Regions from separate parts of the Homo sapiens genome. Here all the other regions are linked to region 2. Evidence: promoter capture Hi-C in 16 types of primary human blood cells and fetal thymus (Javierre and others, 2016). All regions are on one chromosome and are shown on one strand. The core of a region is centred on a gene start or on the middle of the fragment in contact, and the rest is flanking DNA. Distances in the headings are between cores, read along the strand shown.

Evidence for each region. The method cuts DNA at HindIII sites, captures the fragments that hold promoters and counts their contacts. A CHiCAGO score of 5 or more calls a contact.
Region 1: a fragment that was not itself captured here is called in contact with the fragment with the promoter of FBXO6 in region 2 in 5 of 17 cell types (non-activated CD4 T cells, naive CD4 T cells, fetal thymus and 2 more); the score reaches 7.8 in non-activated CD4 T cells.
Region 3: the fragment with the promoter of KIAA2013 here is called in contact with the fragment with the promoter of FBXO6 in region 2 in 1 of 17 cell types (neutrophils); the score reaches 8.4 in neutrophils.
Region 4: a fragment that was not itself captured here is called in contact with the fragment with the promoter of FBXO6 in region 2 in 2 of 17 cell types (M2 macrophages and endothelial precursors); the score reaches 7.2 in M2 macrophages.

What each region holds. Positions count from the first base shown.
Region 1 is chr1:11,240,591-11,244,049 of GRCh38, reverse strand. MTOR (mechanistic target of rapamycin kinase) reads left to right here. Exons shown (of 58, transcript NM_004958.4): 9 at 750-936; 10 at 2,369-2,497. Among named protein-coding and RNA genes, the nearest start is that of MTOR, 20 kb to the left of the region's middle. RefSeq lists an enhancer at 1,943-2,502. The HindIII fragment of the contact is 2,081 bases long and covers 1,099-3,179 here.
Region 2 is chr1:11,662,677-11,665,867 of GRCh38, reverse strand. FBXO6 (F-box protein 6) reads right to left here and starts at 1,668. Exons shown (of 6, transcript NM_018438.6): 1 at 1,613-1,668. It overlaps FBXO44 (F-box protein 44), which reads right to left. Exons shown (of 6, transcript NM_033182.7): 6 at 2,541-3,191. RefSeq lists an enhancer at 1,093-1,142 and silencers at 1,263-1,332, 1,383-1,602. The HindIII fragment of the contact is 5,022 bases long and covers 1-3,171 here.
Region 3 is chr1:11,924,422-11,927,678 of GRCh38, reverse strand. It overlaps KIAA2013, which reads left to right and starts at 1,252. Exons shown (of 3, transcript NM_138346.3): 1 at 1,252-2,474. The coding sequence starts at 1,442. RefSeq lists enhancers at 1,033-1,327, 982-1,645, 1,646-2,308 and a silencer at 1,328-1,397. The HindIII fragment of the contact is 9,969 bases long and covers 1-3,257 here.
Region 4 is chr1:11,280,823-11,284,495 of GRCh38, reverse strand. All of the region lies in intron 1 of UBIAD1 (UbiA prenyltransferase domain containing 1), which reads right to left. Among named protein-coding and RNA genes, the nearest start is that of UBIAD1, 9.5 kb to the right of the region's middle. The HindIII fragment of the contact is 2,172 bases long and covers 633-2,804 here.

The sequences.
Region 1 (3,459 bases), core at 890-3,389, 420 kb after region 2:
AAGTGCTGGGATTACAGGCATGAGCCACTGCATCTGAGACAGGGTCTTATTCTGTTGCCCAGGCTGGAGTGCATGGCTCTTGGCTCAGTGCGGCCTCAAACTCCTGGACTCAAGTGATGTTCCTCAGCCTCCCAAAGTGCTGGGATTACATGTGTGAGACACTGCACCCGGCCCATGACTGTACTTCAAATTTCATTATAATGTAAAATTGTTTAGATGATCTTCTGTTTTTAAACAAGGTTTGACATATATTTCTTCAGCAAGAGCATGTAATTCTTGTGTGAAAATGTAACAGTAATGGAGACAATTCTGTGATATTGTTTTGGCAACCTTTTACGTTTTTTGGGTTTTTTTTTTTTTTTGAGACAGGCTCTTTGTCACTCAGGCTTGAGTGCAGTGCTGCACACGATCACACCTTTCTGCAGCCTCAACCATCTGGGCTCAAGTGATCCTCCTGCCTCAGCCTCCCGAGTAGCTGGGATTACAGGCATGCACCACCACACCTGGCTAATTTTTATTTTTGTAGAGACAGGGTCTCACTGTGTTGCCCAGGCTGTTTCGAACTCCTGGCCTCAAACACTCCTCTCTCCTTGGCCTCCCAAAGTGTTGGGATTACAGGTGTGAGCCACTGTGCCTGGCCACTTTCTTAATTTATTCTTAAACTGAATTGCTTTATAGGACCTTTGACTGTTGATATGTAGACCCTAACCCTGACCTGGAGCTATCTACTTTGTCTTTTCTGTGCTCAGATACCCAGTATCTCCAAGATACCATGAACCATGTCCTAAGCTGTGTCAAGAAGGAGAAGGAACGTACAGCGGCCTTCCAAGCCCTGGGGCTACTTTCTGTGGCTGTGAGGTCTGAGTTTAAGGTCTATTTGCCTCGCGTGCTGGACATCATCCGAGCGGCCCTGCCCCCAAAGGACTTCGCCCATAAGTAAGCACCTCTGTTATGATTTCACCTTCCACTCCATTTGGTTGGAGAGGAAGGACGCTCTATTTCAGATCCACGGAGCTTACGCCCATTTTTTGCATCATTAAACTCCAGGGTATAGCAAATCATATGAAGAACAGCCCTTCCTTAGTTGAATTCTAAGCTTTTCCAAATGAAATAACATATATGAAATATTTGGGGAGGTTGAATACCCTGAGAACATGTGAGATGCCAATGCTATTTTCAGTGTTATTATTTACTGGGAATCTGCTAGTTTTGCTTTTTTCTCTGGCTTTTAAAAGTCTTATTTTGATATAAGACCTAAAGAGAGGAATCCTTGACTGGAACTGAAGGGACCTAAGGGTCATCTTTTTCCTCATCGCTGAAGTTGAATAAGTTATTCCACCTCTTTAAACCTCCTGGCGAATAAAATATGAGAAAACCCCTCAGCATCCTGCCAGATGGAGAGACTGGGGTGTCTTCGCTAAGGCGAGGGGGTCAGTGTTCATCATCCTTTGTCTCAGGTTGTCTTTATACTTCCCTGTTTATTAGCGAAGATTGCTGTGGTGAATTAATACGCCCCACTCATTCTTTTTTTTTTTTTTTTTTTTTTTTTGAGATGGAGTCTTACTTTGGTTGCCCAGGCCGGAGTGCAGTGGCACGGTCTTGGGTCACTGCAACCTCCTCCTCTCAGGTTCAAGCGATTCTCCTGCCTCAGCCTCCTGAGTAGCTGGGATTACAGGCATGTGCCACTATGCCAAGCTAATAATTGTATTTTTTTGTAGACACAGGTTTTCACCATTTTGGCCGGGCTGGTCTCGAACTCCTGGCCTCAAGTGATCCACCCACCTTAGCCTCCCAAGTAGCTGGGACTACAGGCGTGTGCCAGCACGCCCAGCTAATTTTTGTATTTTTAGTAGAGGCGGGGTTTCACCATGTTGGCCAGGCTGGTCTCGAACTCCTGACCTCAGGTGATCCACCCACCTCCGCCTCCCAGAGTGCTGGGATTACAGGCGTGAGTCGCTGCGCCTGGCCCCATTCTAAAGCCCAGCATTCTCATCATAGAAGAATTTCTTTCCATATGATGGCTGTGTACTGCCTTCTTGTCCCTGATGAACACATTGTTCAGCTCTCTTCCTACATAATTATCTTGGTGAGCACCACAATAACCCATATGGTATAGCTGTGTGAATTCAGAAAAAAGGCCCCTTCCTTAAGACACTTTACTGCCATCTGCTGGATTGTTGTAGAAATGTACAAATCTACAGTAATTGTGATGTGATGGGTCCCTTTGAACTGTGCTCTGGACAATTTGCATACCCATCTGTGGTAGCCCTGCCTGAGTAACCTGCTCTCCTTGCCCCAAGGTGATTTTGAGGTGGGACATTAAAGAATGTCATTATGTCTCAACTAGCCACTCTCCATTTCTCTACAGGAGGCAGAAGGCAATGCAGGTGGATGCCACAGTCTTCACTTGCATCAGCATGCTGGCTCGAGCAATGGGGCCAGGCATCCAGCAGGATATCAAGGAGCTGCTGGAGCCCATGCTGGCAGTGGGACTAAGGTGGGTGTCAGAAACCTGAGCTTGCCCTGTATCAGCGTGAGGCTTGGCCCCCAGTGTTGGGACTGTTAAAAGAATGAGGCATGGTTGTTTGCACATTCAACTGGATGGACAGGATAGCTTAGACTAAACACACAGGCTAGTACTGAATCCTAGTTTCATCACTAGCTTTCTATATGATCTTGACTAAGTTATTTAATTTCCCCGAGCCTCATTTTTTTTTTTTTTTTTTTTTGAGAAGGGGTCTCGCTCTGTCGCCCAGGCTGGAGTGCAGTGGCCCAGTCTTGGCTCACTGCAAGCTCCGCCTCCCGGGTTCACGCCATTCTCCTGCCTCAGCCTCCTGAGTAGCTGGGACTACAGGCGCCTGCCACCACGCCTGGCTAATTCTTTGTATTTTTAGTAGAGTTGGGGTTTCAGTGTGTTAGCCAGGATGGTCTCGATCTCCTGACCTTGTGATCCGCCCACCTCGGCTCCCAAAGTGCTGAGATTACAGGTGTGAGCCACCGCGCCTGGCCTCATTTTTTTTTTTTAATCTGAAAAGTGGGTGCAATAGTAATTCTTATTGCCTAGGGTTGCTGTGGGTTCATGGTATAGTCACTCTTAGCACCATGCCTGGCATATAGGAAGTACTCAATAAATATTTGCAAATATTGTGTATATTATTATTGAGCAAGTTGCTTAAGCTTCCTAAACTAAGTTCTCTTCATCTGTAAAATAAGGACAGTGTTCTTAATCTGCTTCCCAGAGTGTTTGTTGAGACTTGGTCTTCTGTAGTGGCTGAATTATAGTGAGCAAGTCTTCTGTGGCAAGAACCAGAAACTCATAGATTGTTTGGAGACCTGAGACTAAGCCAAGAGAGTTTACACTTTTATTCTTATTTTATAATATCCTTTCTACTCTGAAGAACAGAGGCCTGATCCCCTTGCTGGGAGAGAAAGCTGTTTCTTCCCAAGAACAGACTGAGT
Region 2 (3,191 bases), core at 419-2,918:
AAGAAATTAGGTCGGGTGCACAGACTCAGGCCTGTATTCCCAGCACTTCGGTAGGCCGAGGCGGGCGGATCACAAGATCAGGAGTTCGAGACCAGCCTGGCCAATATGGCGAAACCCCGTCTCTACTAAAAATACAAAAATTAGCTGGGCGTGGTGGCGGACGCCTGTAGTCCCAGCTACTCGGGAGGGTGAGGCAGGAGAATCACCTGAACCCGGGAAGCGGAGGTTGCAGTGAGCCGAGATCGTGCCACTGCACTCCAGCCTGGGCAACAGAGTGAGAATCTGTCTCAAAAAAAAAAAAAAAAAAAAAAAAGGCCGGGCGCGGTGGCTCACGCCTGTAATCCCAGCACTTTGGGAGGCCGAGGTGGGCGGATCACGAGGTTAGGAGATCGAGACCGTCCTGGCTAACACAGTGAAACTCCATCTCTACTAAAAATACAAAAAATTAGCCGGGCTTGGTTGCAGGTGCCTGTAGTCCCAGCTACTCGAGAAGCAGGTGCCTGTAGTCCCAGCTACTCGGGAGGCTGAGGCAGGAGGACGGCCTGAACCCGGGAGGCGGAGCTTGCAGTGAGCTGAGATCGCGCCACTGCACTCCAGCCTGGGCGACAGAGCGACACTCCGTCTCAAAAAAAAAAAAAAAAAAAAAAAAAAAGAAATTAGCTAGGCCTGGTGGCCCGTGCCTGTAGTCCCAGCTATGCAGGAGGCTGAGGCAGGAGGAACGCTTGAGCCCAGGAAGTCGAGGCTGCAGTGAGCCGTGATCATGCCACTGCACTCCAGCCTGGGTGACAGAGCAAGACTCTGCCATAAATAAATAAATAAATAAATGCTGGCAGCTTCTAAAGGCACTGTCTAGACTCTAGACGAAATAAAAGTCACTGGGCTCCAAGCTAGAGGCATCTAGGCACCAATAGCTTCCCACCGTGGTGACCGAAGTCTGGTCTCTGGCCCAGTCCGCATTTTCTTGCGCCCCTTCCCCCCCCCGGCCCTGGGCATTTTGTGGTGGGGAAGTCCATGCCAGCCCTAGGAAGCCCTCTCACACCGATCGGGGTCCCCAACTGCCCGGCCCGGCGTCTCGTGCTCGCCTTCTCCGCACCCACCCTCCCAGCAAGCTCTAGTGGCATTGTTACTTCACCGGTTTCTCGGAAACAGAAACTGTGGCTGGGGCAAGGCAAGCGCCGGATCTCGCAGGCGTGTGGGGGCCTGGAGGTCCCTTGACAGTTCTCCGAACCCGGCGCCGGCCTCGGGATGTGGCCGGGGTGGAGGCGGCCGCAGAGCCTCCGCCTGGGTGGCCCCGGGGCCAGGCCCCCAGTCGAAGTCCGGGCCCAGCCGCCCGCGCCCCCCACCCCTGGCCGCCCGGACCAGCGCCCGCAGGCTCCGTGAACGCCCAGGCGCCGGAGACCCCGGCTCCCCACTCGCCCGCCGCCCGTCCCCCCGGGGACGCGACCTGGGCGCAGCGGCGGAGCTCCAGGTCGGCCCGAGCCTACGGCCTCGGCTTCGTTGTCGCTGGGCCCCGCCGCCGCGTCACGCGCTGCGCTCGGTCCCCACCCCCGCCCCGGACCCCGCTGCCGTCCCTCTCGGCCCGGCCCCTAACCCTCGCCGCGGGAAGACGAACCTGGGATCCCCAGGGCCCGGGCCCTCGCTGCGGCCTGCGTGTCCTGAAGCTGTCTCCCCCTCCAGGCGGCGGGCGGCTCAGCACCCACACCTGCACCCGCCTCCTACGCAGGGCCGAAGCTCCCGAACGCGCGGCCGCTCCCCGGACCTCCGCACTAGTTCCTTCCTTATGCGGCCCAGGGCTCCACCCTTGACCCGCGGTCCCCTCCCTAGAGGCAGGACCTGACACCCAGTGGGCTCCTTCTTTCCCTAGGGCGTGACCTCCGCAGGCTTCATAGACTCAAAGGTAAAAAACCTGAGGTGCTAGGAGGTGGCTAACGCCTGTGATCCCAGCACTTTGGGAGGCCGAGGTGGGGAGGATCGCTTGAGGTCAGGAGTTCGAGACCAGCCTGGCCAACATGGCAAAAACCCTGTCTCTACTAAATATACAAAAATTAGCCGGGCGTGGTGGCACAGGTCTATAATCCCAGCTCCTCCGGAGGCTGAGGTGGGAGAATCGCTTGAACCTGGGAGGCTGCAGTGAGTGGAGACTGTACCACTGCACTGCAGCCTGGGCGACAGAGCCAGACCTTGTCTCAAAAAATAAAAAACCTCTGAGGTTTTTTATCAGGATTAAGTTCATGAATTTCTTCCATCAGTCAACAAATATTTAGCAAGCACCTTGTTCAGGCAACCACCAAGGGTTGTGCAGGCTGTGTACTGCACAAGGGGACTGGCCCAGGACACATTAATTGCAGTCAGGGCTACATGTTCTCCGTGGAAGGCCGTCCTTTTGCAGTTTGCCATGGGCTGGTGGGTGGTGATCCTGCCCTGGCCAAAGCCCTTATCTAGCTCACCCTTGACTGAGATAGCTAAATGTGAGGAGTACTTATTGAGCACTGGATTATAGTCCATGTTCACACTGCTATAAAGAAATACCCGAGACTGGGTGATTTATAAAAGGAAAGAGGTTTAATTGACTTATAGTTCCATATGGCTGGGGAAGCCTCAAGAAACAATCGCTGGGCGCGGTGGCTCACGCCTGTAATCTCAGCACTTTGGGAGGTCGAGGTGGGTGGATCACGAGGTCAGGAGATTGAGACCACCCTGGCCAACATGGTGAAACTCCATCTCTACTAAAAATACAAACAAAATTAGCCGGGCATGGTGGTGGGCGCCTGTAGTCTCAGCTACTCCAGAGGCTGAGGCAGGTGAATGGCGCGAACCTGGGAGGCAGAGCTTGCAGTGAGCTGAGATTGCGCCACTGCACTCCAGCCTGGGCGACAGAGCGAGACTCCATCTCAAAAAAAAAAAAAAAAAAAAGAAAAGAAAAGAAAAAAGGAACTTACAATCATGGTGGTGGAAGGTGAAGGGGAAGCAACGACCTTCTTCACATGGCGGCAGGAGGGAGCCGGGGAAACCGTCACTTGTAAAACCATCAGATCTCGTGAGAACTCACTCACTATCATGAGAACAGCATGGGGGAAAACCGCTCCCATAATCCAATCACTTCCCACCAGGTCTCTCCCTAAACACCCAGGATTACCATTCAAGATGAGATGTGGGTGGGGACACAAAGCTTAACCATATCACGCACCAAC
Region 3 (3,257 bases), core at 3-2,502, 260 kb before region 2:
CATTTTTATTTTTTTATTTTTATTTATTTATTTTTTTTTTTTTGAGACAGAGTCTCCCTCTGTCACCCAGGCTGGAGTGCAGTGGCGCGATCTTGGCTCACTGCAAGCACCGCCTCCCGGGTTCACGCCATTCTCCTGCCTCAGCCTCCCGAGTAGCTGGGACTACAGGCGCCTGCCACCACGCCTGGCTAATTTTTTATATTTTTAGTAGAGACAGGGTTTCACCGTGTTAGCCAGGATGGTCTCGATCTCCTGATCTCGTGATCTGGCGGCCTCGGCCTCCCAAAATGCTGGGATTACAGGCGTGAGCCACCGTGCCCAGCCTAATTTTTGTATTTTTAGTAGAGACAGGTTTTCACCATGTTGGTCAGGCTGGTTTCGAACTCCTGACCTCAAGTGATTTGCCCATCTCAGCCTCCTAAAGTGCTGGAATTACAGACGTGAGCCACCACTCCTGGCCTCTGGTGGTTCCCCTTCCCCTCCTCCTCCCTTTTCCTTTCTTCTTCTTTCTTCCTCTTCTTCTCTCTCCTTTTTTTTTCCTCCACTTTTTCGTATTGTTCCAAGTGTTTTTTTGCAGTGAGGATAGTCTTTTTTTTTTTTTTTTTTTTTGAGACAGAGTCTCACTCTGTCGCCCAGGCTGGAGTGCAGTGGCGTGATCTCGGCTCACTGCAAGCCTGCAACCTCCGCCTCACGGGTTCAAGCAGTTCTCCTACCTCAGCCTCCTGAGGAGCAGGGATTACAGGCATGCGCCACCACGCCCGGCTAGTTTTTGTATTTTTAGTAGAGATGGGGTTTCACCATGTTGGTCAGGCTGGTCTCAAACTGCTGACCTCGTGATCCGCCCGCCTTGGCCTCCCAAAGTGCTGGGATTACAGGCGTGAGCCACCGCGCGCGGCGAGAGGATGGTCATTTTTACAGAAACAAAGTTGTTGTGTGTGTGTGTGTGTATGTTTTTAAATTTTGGGGCTGTTGAATCCATCAGTAGCAAAGGGGCCCAACACGTGTTCGGTTTGGCTGGCTCGATGTTTTTTTCACGAGTGAATTGGATGCTTCCAGTCCTCCCCAGACCCCTGCACTTAACTCCACTGGACTTCACTCTTCCGGCCTGGGAACGAGTGGTCCCGCCCCCGGCAGCTTTTGTCCCGCCCTCGCCGTGGCTCCGCCCCCTTCTCTCCGGCCTGCTCTCTCTCCTCCCTCCGCCCTCCCGTTTTCCATCTGTCGTAAAAGACACGGCGACGCTTGACCGCCGGCGTCGTTTGACGGCTGGAGGCCACCGAGAAGAAGGAGGAAGCAGGGGTGGCGGCTGCTGCGGCGGTTGCGGCGGGGGCCGGGGTGGGCGCCGCGGTCCGGGCCGGGCAGTGAGGCGCGGGCGGCCGGGCCGGTGGGCTGGGCGGCGGGCCCGGCGGCCGCCCTCGCACCCTTGCCCGCGCCTGGCGGCCCGATGTGGCTGCAGCAGCGGCTCAAGGGGCTGCCGGGACTGCTGTCGAGCAGCTGGGCCCGCCGCCTCCTCTGCCTGCTTGGCCTCCTGCTGCTGCTTCTGTGGTTTGGGGGGTCCGGCGCGCGGCGGGCGGCGGGCGGCCTGCACCTGCTGCCCTGGTCCCGCGGTGAGCCGGGCGCCGCCGAGCCGTCTGCCTGCCTGGAGGCGGCCACCCGCGCCTGGCGCGGCCTGCGGGAGCGCGGTGAGGTGGTACCGCTGGGTCCTGGAGTGCCGGCCCTGGTGGCCAACGGCTTCCTGGCCCTGGACGTGGCTGCCAATCGGCTGTGGGTGACTCCCGGGGAGCGGGAGCCCGCCGTGGCGCCGGACTTTGTGCCCTTCGTGCAGCTGCGCCCGCTGAGCGCGCTGGCTGAAGCTGGAGAGGCGGTGCTGCTGCTGCGGGAGGGGCTTCTGCGCCGCGTGCGTTGCCTGCAGCTGGGGTCCCCAGGTCCTGGCCCCGTGGCCGCCGGCCCCGGGCCCGCCTCCGTCTCTGGCCTTGCCGCGGGGTCCGGCCGCGACTGCGTGCTGCTGCAAGAGGACTTTCTGGCGCACAGGGGCCGACCCCACGTCTACCTGCAGCGCATCCAGCTCAACAACCCCACGGAGCGCGTGGCCGCGCTGCAGACTGTGGGGCCCACTGCCGGCCCAGCCCCCAAGGCCTTCACCAGTACCCTGGAGAAGGTCGGAGACCATCAGTTCCTCCTCTACTCAGGCCGGTCCCCGCCTACGCCCACTGGGTTGGTGCACCTGGTGGTGGTGGCCGCCAAGAAGCTGGTGAACCGCCTCCAAGTGGCTCCCAAGACGCAGCTGGATGAGACGGTGCTGTGGGTGGTGCACGTCTCTGGCCCCATTAACCCCCAGGTGCTCAAAAGCAAAGCAGCCAAGGAGCTCAAGGCGCTGCAGGACTTGGCACGGAAGGAAATGCTGGAGCTCTTGGACATGCCAGCGGCGGAGCTGCTTCAAGACCACCAGCTCCTCTGGGCTCAGCTCTTCAGCCCAGGTGAGTCCTGGCCAGCGCTTGGTCCACCCTAGATATGTCCCTCCCAAGTCTGCAGAGGTGACACTGAAGGTGATGGTGGGGTGGTTGAAACTTGGGCTTGGCGTTTCACCAGTGGTTGAATCTGCTCAACTGCTTAGTGTCTGTGCGACCTTTGGATTCGTCGCCTAATCTCTCTGGGCCTGTATTTAATAACAATAACGCCTACCTCAGAAGGTTTTTATGAGACTGTAGTGGACAATTGAGTGTAAAGGTCAATTCTTTCTGTTACTTGTTTTGGTAGATGGGGCCTGATGTGAGCAGAGTGAAGTGTTTTAGAGTCAGTTTGCAGAGGTGAAACCAGCAGGTGGATCCCCTGATTCTTTGCTCAGCACCGCAGTCGGCCTGGTGACAGACGTGGGCTTCTTGACATAACCCCTGCTAGGCTGAGGTGCGTCCTGGCAGTTGTGGCTGCAACTGGTTCACAGGGAGGTTGGAGAATCCCTTTTAGCAGGTTGAGATGCTCCCGCCCGATGAAAACTCTCCTCTCGTTGACTGTTAAAGAAAAGAAAATCCTGTTCTGGATGAGAGAGGGGTTTTGGTTTCCAGGGTTCCAATTGTCTGAACCTTTGTGTTTGGTTGCTCAGAGAGTTGAGTTCATTCAGCAAGTATCTATTGAATGCTTCTGCCAGGGCTGTTCTATGCATGGGGGGGTGCAGATGGGAACCAGAGTTCCTGTTCTCATGGTGCTTGCTTAAATTCTGGTTGGGAGGAAGACAGACATTAGAAAAGTGAAAATTAAAATTA
Region 4 (3,673 bases), core at 469-2,968, 380 kb after region 2:
AAGACTCTGTCTCAAAAAAATTAGTAAATAAATAAATAAAGGAATCTGACCACCCCCTCCCCCAACATACACTTAAACCCTTATCAACCACTCATCCTGGGGATAAAAGTCCCAGATCTTTAACCTGGCTCACCTGTGGCCCAGCCCTACCTCTCCTGCCTCACCTTGAGCTCTCCTCCCCTCTTCACACAGACTTCTTCCAATCCGTCAGAGCCTTCAGACACCCCTCCCTTGGCCTGGCTAACTCTACTCACCCTTTAAGACTTTAAAGACCATTCCCCAGGACCACCTCCTCTCACCCCTAAGCCACATTTGATCCCCTTGCAATATGCTCCCATGGCAATATGCCTGCCATGTTCATAAACTTCATCATGCTTCTAATTAATCTCCACCTTTCTCACTAAACTGTAAGTTCCATGAGGGCAGGACATGTGTCTGGCTTGGTCACAGCTCACTCCCCAATACTTGGCACAAGGGCTGAACTGAAGACAGAGCTACAGTAACAAGCACCTGGAATTTGGGATCAAGGTCAGGAAAGATCTCCCACTCAGACTGAAACAGGTAAAGCAGTATGGAATGAGTGGAGCTGCCCACTGAGGGAGGTGACCCATGCAATTATTGCTACAGAAGCTTAGCAAACTCCAGTTCTAACCAAGCTACAAGATGTGGACTCAAGATCAGAAAATAAAGCTCTGGTTAGGCATTTTAACCAGTCTAAAATGACAGAAGTTCCCACTAGCCACAGGAATCAAAATGAAATAAAATGACAGGAGCTAAGGAACAAGATCCAGTCCAAGTTCACCTTCACATCAGCAGCTGGGGTCCCTTGGTGCTAAATACACACCCTTAGTTCTTCAGAACAAAGTATCTCCAGGGAAGGGCATTAAGGCATGGCCACTGACACTCTTCAACATTCAGCAAGCTAATTCTGCACCCTCAAGCCATATTTTTTTTCCTTCTATTTGGATAATTTTTATACCAAGCCATGTTTTCATAAATAATTTGGTTGTATGAGGACATGCCCTCCAGGAGGAAGTTCCCTCAAGCAGAGCACGAGCTCCAGTTCAGAATTAGTAAATTGACGTCTCTTCCAATATCTCACACATTTAAGGGACTACACCCACGCAAAGATGATGCTGGGCAGGAATACTCCCAGCACAGACCTAGCCAGTTCCTCTACAGCTGCCCACTCTTGCTGTGCTTGTTTTCTCAGCTCCCCAAGTGACGCCACTGGTCTGGCTGTGAAAGAAAATGCAACAGCACTACAGCCTTGACCTTTGGCTGGAGTCTCCAAGAACACCTCCTTAGATCACTCGGCAAAAAGCAATGTAAGCGGCCAGGTATGGTGGCTCACGCCTGTAATCCCAGCACTTTGGGAGGCTGAAGCAGGTGGATCACCTGAGGTCAGGGGTTCGAGACCAGCCTGACCAACATGGAGAAACCCCATCTCCACTAAAAATACAAAAAATTAGCCGGGTGTAGTGGCGCATGTCTGTAATCCCAGCTACTCGGGAGGCTGAGGCAGAAGAACCGCTTGAACCCTGGAGGCAGAGGATGTGGTGAGCCGAGATCGTGCCATTGCACTCCAGCCTGGGCAACAAGAGCAAAACTCCGTCTCAAGAAAAAAAAAGGCCAGGCACAGTGGCTCACGCTGTAATTCCAGCACTTTGGGAGGCCACAGCGGGTGGATCAACTGAGGTCAGGAAGTCAAGACCAGCCTGACCAACACGGAGAAACCCCATCTCTACTAAAAATACAAAAAAAAATTAGCCGGGCATGGTGGTGCACGCCTGTAATCCCAGCTACTCGGGAGGCTGAGGCAGGAGAATCGCTTGAACCAGGAGGCAGAGGTTGCAGTGAGCAGAGGTCGCACCATTGTACTCCAGCCTGGTCAACAAGAGCTAAACTCTGTCTTTTGAAAAAAAAAAAAAAAAAAAGTGATGTAAGCAAGGTTGAGCAGAGATCTCTGTCCCCACCCCAAAACCAAGAGCAACCCACTCTGGGGAGGAAAAAGATCTGGTTATCTGACACAAGAAAACAGTAGAGCCCTTGGGGAGAAAGCTGTTTCCTAGCATTTGATACATGGCCCAAGGCTTCATGTGCTCTACCTGATTCAGAGACGTGGCCCATCTGGGAATTTCCTTTTAGGCATTCCTCCTCTCCCAACCCCATTTTCTGAATGAGCTTACACAGTGAAATACTGGGCCGGTTCTCCACACGGCAGCCAGAATGAATCTGTTAAGACTTAAGTCAAAAAGTTGGCAAGACGCAGAGCAACTGGAACACTTGCTGGGGGGAGTGTAAAGAAGTACAACCACTTCAGAAAACAGTTTGGCAGTTTCTCATAAAATTAAACATCATCTGCCCTGTGACCCAGCAATTCTACTCCTGGGCATTTACCCAAGAAAAATGAAAACAAATATCCACAAAAAGACTTGAACATGAATGTTCAGACGTAATAGCCAAAATATGGAAGCAATCCAAATGTCCCTGAAAAGGAGAATGGATAAAAAGAAGTTGTGGTATGTTACAATGGAATGCTAGTCAGCAAAAAAAGGAACTACTGATACACGCAATAAAACAATGAATCTCAAAAACATCACGCTGAGCAAAAGAAGCCAGACGAGAGCTCAGACTGAAATAAATACACATACATACATACATACATAGTTCATAGTGAAAGGTTCCATTTATATGACAGGCAAAACTAATCTCTGTGAGAGGAATCAGAACAGTGGTTCTTTTCCTGTCTCTGGATGGGGGCAGGGAGTGTGGGATTGACAGGCAAGAAGCACTGGGAAGCTTTTGGGGGTGATGGAAGTGTTCTGGATGATGACGGGGTGTGGGTTATGCAACTGTATACATTTATCAAAATTCATCAAGCTGCAACACTAAAAACCTGTGCATTTCACTGTGTGTCAATTATATGTCAATAAAAGACAATGTTTAAAAAATCTTAAACCAGATTATGTCACTACTCTGCTCAGTATATTTCAATGCCTTCCCATTTGTTCACTGGATATTTACTAAGTAATATTACATGCCAGGCAGTGCTCTGGGTGCTAGGGGTTCAGCTAATACCAGAGACAGAAATCCCTGACTGCAGGGAGGGAGCTCGCAGTCGAAGGGGGAAGATAATTAACCAATTAAGTACTTTATATGGCACATTAGAAGGTAACATGTGCTATGAGGAAAACTAATGCAGAGAAGAGCAGCAGGGGAAGTATCAGGTGGGGGCACGGAGTGGGTGTGTAATTTTAAGCAAGGTAGAAAGCAAGGCCTCACTGAGCAGCTGACATTTGGGCAAATAGGTGAAGGAAGTGAGAAAGTGAACCACATGGTTAGAAGCAGGAAAAGCATTTCAAACAGAGGAAGCTGCATCTACAAAGGACCTGAGGGAGGGGCAGGAGGGGTTGTGCATGCTCCTGGACTAGAAAGGGCAGTGTGGCTGGCCCAGGATGAGCAGGAAGAAAGGAGGAGGGTGGGTCAGAGAACTGGGGGGAGGGCAAAAGGTGGGCAAAGAATGTAGGGCCCTAGGGAGTCACTGTAAAGACCCTGGCCTTTACTCTGAGCAAGATGGGAGCCACTGAAGAGTTCTAAGCAGGACTGACAGGGCTGCCCTATATTTTAACAGAATTACTCTGGTGGCTGAGTGGGAACAGCCTGAATGGGA